2 separate regions of the Homo sapiens genome follow, and region 2 is linked to region 1. Evidence: promoter capture Hi-C in human tissues and cell types (Jung and others, 2019). All regions are on one chromosome and are shown on one strand. The core of a region is centred on a gene start or on the middle of the fragment in contact, and the rest is flanking DNA. Distances in the headings are between cores, read along the strand shown.

Evidence for each region. The method cuts DNA at HindIII sites, captures the fragments that hold promoters and counts their contacts. A contact is called where the count stands out against the background at its distance.
Region 2: a fragment that was not itself captured here is called in contact with the fragment with the promoter of KCNH6 in region 1 in 2 of the 25 tissues and cell types used here (dorsolateral prefrontal cortex and spleen).

Annotation. Positions count from the first base shown.
Region 1 is chr17:63,521,977-63,524,821 of GRCh38, forward strand. KCNH6 (potassium voltage-gated channel subfamily H member 6) reads left to right here and starts at 1,382. Exons shown (of 13, transcript NM_001278919.2): 1 at 1,382-1,513; 2 at 2,163-2,393. The coding sequence starts at 1,438. The HindIII fragment of the contact is 20,898 bases long and covers 1-2,845 here.
Region 2 is chr17:63,765,472-63,768,171 of GRCh38, forward strand. It overlaps CCDC47 (coiled-coil domain containing 47), which reads right to left. Exons shown (of 13, transcript NM_020198.3): 2 at 441-723. The coding sequence starts at 704. Among named protein-coding and RNA genes, the nearest start is that of CCDC47, 6.8 kb to the right of the region's middle. The HindIII fragment of the contact is 5,197 bases long and covers 1-2,700 here.

The sequences.
Region 1 (2,845 bases), core at 132-2,631:
ATTTGAATGCTTGCCCTCCAAGATCAGGCTCAAAATTGCTCACCAAACCCTCTGCAGCACTACAAGCCCACCCAGATGCTCAGTGAACAGTAGTCCCCTTCTCCCCTTCCTCTCCAGGAAGCCTCTTTCAATAAACCTATTCCCACCCCCATTTGCTTTTTCTAGTGTGTTCATTTTCAGTCAGTACTCAGTACTCAGACACTTTTATCAGTGGTCACTTGCTAATAGGTGGTTTTAAATCTGTTCTCCTTCCAAGATGTACCTGTATGCTAAGAGCTCTCAGGCCTCTGAAGAAGGCATCTTATTGCATACTTCTTTCTTTCTTTCTTTTTATTTTCAGATGGAGTCTCGCGTCTCGCTCTGTCTACCAGGCTGGAGTACAGTGGCGCAATCTCGGCTCACTGCAACCTCCGCCTCCCGGGTACAAGCGATTCTCCCACTTCAGCCTCCCAAGTAGCTGGGATTATAGGTTTGCGCCACCACTCAGCTAATTTTTGTTTTTTCAGTAGAGACAGGGCTTCGCCATGTTGGCCAGGCTGGTCTCAAACTCCTGACCTCAGGTAATCTGCCCACCTCTGCCTCCCAAAGTGCTGGGATTACAGGCGTGAGCCACCGCGCCTGGCCCTTATTGCATATTTCTTGCACGTCTTCATGTGTACTCCTACCCCCTCCTCTCAGGACCAGGCCCTGGCTGGACTTGGCGGCAGGAGCTCTGCATGGGACCTAGGTCTCAGCTGAGCTGGAGATCACTTGCTATAAGAGCAGGCCAGAGGCCTAATGGTATCATTGCCAGGGTCGGGCCCAGTGGTCAGACCCGGAAGAAAGCTTTCAGCCAAAGACCACCTGAGGCCCCTAACAACCCCATCTGTAGCCCCCCTCCTGCCTGGGAAACTCCCTGCACTGGGAGGGGAGACTGCCCTTTGGTACTGGGAGGGAATCGGAGAGGTGCTGAGGCCATTGGCCCTTAGGACAGGAACAGAAGCAGCTCCTCAGAGAACACCTGCCCTATTCCAGGGCCAGGACCCCAGCCCCGCCCCGCCCCGCCCCGCCCCGCCCCGTAGGATGCAAGGCCCCGCCCCAGCCCCGTCGGGTCCCAGAGAAACTGCCCCGCCCAGCGGCCCCCTCCCCGCCGCCGGCGCGCGGCTTCTTTCAGCACCAAGGCGTGGACAGCTCCCGGGCCGGCGCAGAGGAGAGGAGGCCAGGAGGGCGCGGGCCAGGGAGGCGAGGGGAGGGCAGGGGAGCGCAGGAAAGGAAAGGAGAGGTGGGGCAGGGGTGGGGAGGGGAGGGCAGACGCAGGCTGGCGGGCGGGGCGCGGAGCCCGGCGGCCCTCCCCGGGGGCGGCGCCCACCGGAGCCGGACGCTGCTGAGCCCGAGGACAGACGGAGACGCCGGGAGCCAGTGGCGCCTGTGGCTCCGGGCAGGGGCCGCGGCCGAAAGATGCCGGTCCGCAGGGGCCACGTCGCTCCCCAAAACACTTACCTGGACACCATCATCCGCAAGTTCGAGGGCCAAAGTGAGTGTGTGTATGTTGGGGCGGGGGGACGATCTGGAGTCCTGGTTCCGTGAAAGGGGGGGCTGGACCCCTTTACTAACTTCTAACCGGGCAAGGTGGTGAGTGCCGGGTGCTGAATGAAAAATCCTTCTTTTGATGTCCCCAACACCTTCTCCTCCAGGGGGACCCGCTTGCCTTAAATGCTGTCCTCTTTTCTGGAACACAAGGAGCAGCGTGCAGGCCTTCCCTCCCTACTGCCAGCTGTTTCCTTGGTGCCCCAAGTTCGAACCTCCCCTTCCAGCCACTGCCTGCCCCCTCATCCGCGTCCTCCAGAGGCTTCTCTGAGTCCTTCTTTTCCTTCCTTTTCATATCCTGGTTCTGGTCTTCCCAGGAGCTTTCCCAGGCCTGACCCCCATCTGGTCACATCCCTGCCTCCCTTCCCCACACTTTTCCTGTTTCCAGGAGGCCTTGGGCCTTCCTTCCACCTCAAGACCCTCACTGCCCTAGTCTTCCCACAATCCCCAGGCCTGACTCCCTCCCTCATTCCGGTCACTGCCCTGCTCCTCTGCCTAAATTCCCCTTACTGCCACCAAGAGTCCTTATGATCTTTCCCTCCCAGCCGCTGGATCCTGGCTCCCATGGACTTTTTGCCTCCCACCTCCCACCCCAGGTCGGAAGTTCCTGATTGCCAATGCTCAGATGGAGAACTGCGCCATCATTTACTGCAACGACGGCTTCTGCGAACTCTTCGGCTACTCCCGAGTGGAGGTGATGCAGCAACCCTGCACCTGCGACTTCCTCACAGGCCCCAACACACCAAGCAGCGCCGTGTCCCGCCTAGCGCAGGCCCTGCTGGGGGCTGAGGAGTGCAAGGTGGACATCCTCTACTACCGCAAGGATGGTGAGGCATACTCAGGCCAGAGGCTTTGCAGGGCAGGCTTGGCCCTCTGTCTTGTCCAGCCAGGGTGGCCTTGGGGAAGGCACTGACCCAGGGTCCAAAGGGCCTGAACAAACCCTGTTTCTTCTAGGGGCCTTGGTTCCTCCACAGGCATTGGATATGATGCCTTCTGAGGTCCTTTGCAGGAGCTAGGGATCAGGCTGGGCCACCCACTGGTTCTGGCCTGGGGCAGGGCCTCCTGCTCTGCCATCCCTCTGCTGTGTCCCTGGTCTCCTGGCTCTCCACTATCTTACTGTCAGCCCCAGCGGTCAGGCAGCTGGGATGGAAATTAACCTTCCCTCCTCTCCGTCTGCTCCAAGGATTAGAGGAGGAGTCACCTCCTGAAGACCTCTGTGGCCAGGCAAGGCATGGGGGCTTTTGGCTGGCAAAGTGGGGTGGGCCTGCCTTATCCAGTC
Region 2 (2,700 bases), core at 13-2,512, 240 kb after region 1:
CTGACATGACAGGCACGCACCACCACGCCCAGCTAATTTTGTATTTTTAGTAGAGACAGGGTTTCACCATGTTGGCCAGGCTGGTCTCAAACTCCTGACCTTGGGTGATCTGCCTGCCTTGGCCTCCCAAAGTGCTGGGATTACAGGCATGAGCCACCGTGCCCAGCCAATTGCAAAGTTCTAAATAATACAATTCTCACCCACAAACAGTATCTATTCTCTAACCCCTCTTCCAGTCAGGGTTTCAATAGAAGAACACAATTCATTCTGTTAATGTAAAAGGTGGAAACTTACCACAGAACATTTAGAAGAGCTCTACCTAGTGAATGAAAATGAAGACTCCAGACAGTAAAGGTCTCTTGAGCCTGAGGATTAATTTTAATGTTTGGGAAAGGTGCTAGTTACAAATTTTTCCAATAAATTAATAAAAAGAGCCTCACCTGGGTATCTGCATCTTCAAAATCTCCTTCTTGGTTTTCATCCTGCCCTTCCAACTCCACAGTGGTCTCATCTTCATCATCTTCAGTGATTATGACCCGTTGAGGAGATTCAGTAACAGAGTCTTCCATGACATCCTCAAATTCAGCGAAGTCATTATCATCATACTCTACTATGTCCTCCTCATCCTCAAAATCATCAAACTTGGCTTCAGAGACACTCCCAAACACCAGAAGGACAACACAGAAAGTGTGGAAGGCTTTCATTGCACCTTGAGAAAAAAAGCTTAAAAAAAAAGAGAACCCCAAAATGGATTGCCATTCTATACATACTGATCAGATTTTATAAACAGTAAAAATCTATAAACCTCTCCTGCTTTTCTCTTATTTGGTACTATTAGATTCAGACCACATTATATAAAGAACAATGAAGTAAGGTCAAGAGGCTTGGGTTCTAGTCTGGATCCTGGCACTACATATCTGTAAAATCTTCAACAAGTCATCAAGTCATTTATTTAATTTCTTTTTTTTTGAGACGGAGTTTTGCTCTTGTCGCCCAGGTTGGAGCACAATGGTGTGATCTTGGCTCACTGCAACCTCTGCCTCCTGGGTTCAAGCGATTCTCCTGCCTCAGCCTCCCGAGTAGCTGGGATTACAGGCATGTGCCACCACGCCTGGCTAATTTTTGTATTTTTAGTAGAGATGGGGTTTCACCATGTTGGCCAGGCTAGTTGTGAACTCCTGACCTCAGGGTGATCCATCTGTCTCGGCCTCCCAAAGTGCTGGGATTACAGGTGTGAGCCACTGTGCCCAGCCCAAGTCATTTAATTTCTTTAGGTTGGGTTTTCTAAAACTCTGTCCATTTACATAGAGTATTCAATAAGCATTTTTTGAGGGCCTATTAAAAAGCTTTCTATAGAAAATGAGAAGGAGGTAAAAATGAAGGAATAAGATGTAGCTATTTATCTGTTAGTGGTAACAAGAATAATCCATGAATAAAAAAGCCATTCACCCTTAGATTGATTTGTGTTCATGCATGAACATAATTATCATAAGAGCAAACACTTAAATCACTATGTGCTAGACACTGTTCCAAAGACTTTACAAAAAGCAACTAATTTAATCCTCATAACAACCCTCTAAGGAAAGCTGCAACATTAACATCCCCATTTCACTAATAAGGAAAATGGGGCAGAGAGATGCTAAGTAGTACAACTACCAAGTGACAAAGAGCTGTGATTTAATCCCAGAGTTTTGCCTCCAGAGTCCATGCTATGAACCACTTCTCAGGCTGCATCTCAAATGTGGTAGGTGGCTGTGCTTTCATATTACTTGCTTAGAAGCAGTAATTTTTTGCTAACCAATTGTTCTTAGTGTGTATGATGGAATTCAATGTATCATCATTTTATAGCTTTTTGAAGAACATTAAGTTTTCTAATACGTGAAAAAAGCTTCTGCATTAACAAATATAATGATATCATATCTGTGACAAAATATGTGCCAAATTATATGAAAACATGGACAACAATGTAACCATTTTCCCAAATAGGTAAGGCTTTACAAAAAAAAAAGTGGGGAGACCATTTGAGCTGAAATTTGAAAAGTATATTTCAACCATCAAACCCATTTAGGCTGTATTTCCAGTCCTGTCCCTCATCTAAACACCAGCCCTATGTCATAACTCACTGTAACCTTGAAGACATATCTGTTTTGACGCCCTACAAACTTTTCGTGTATCTAGTAAGATAGTAAATATTCTAGGCTTCATGGGGTACATACTGGTCTCTGCTGCATATTGTTCTTTTTTTAAAAAAAACTTTAAAACAATATAAAGACCATTCTTACTTCACAGGCCTCCCCTCAGGCTGACCCAATCCCTGCCTATAGTCATCTCAAAATCATCAGGTATCTGAATTTCTCTATTCGTATATTAATATCAATCACATTTTTCCAGTCTTGCTTGTTGAAAAGAACAAGATATCTAATGTTTTGCCTTCTTTTTCCTTTGAAATCTATCAGCCATCAAATCCTGGTGTTTCCTTCTTTGATTCCTATAGCCACTACAAGTTACCCCCACCTGCTGAAGAGCCACCATATTATTTTAAATGGTATCGTCTTAATGCTCTCCCCACTCCCTACTTTTCCTCCCTAAAAACTACCAGCATCTGTCTAAAACAGAACTTTTGTTACATATAAGGATTCAATAATCATCAAAGGCTAACCAATTATTGCAAAGTAATATAAAAACTCCTTTGGCATTCAC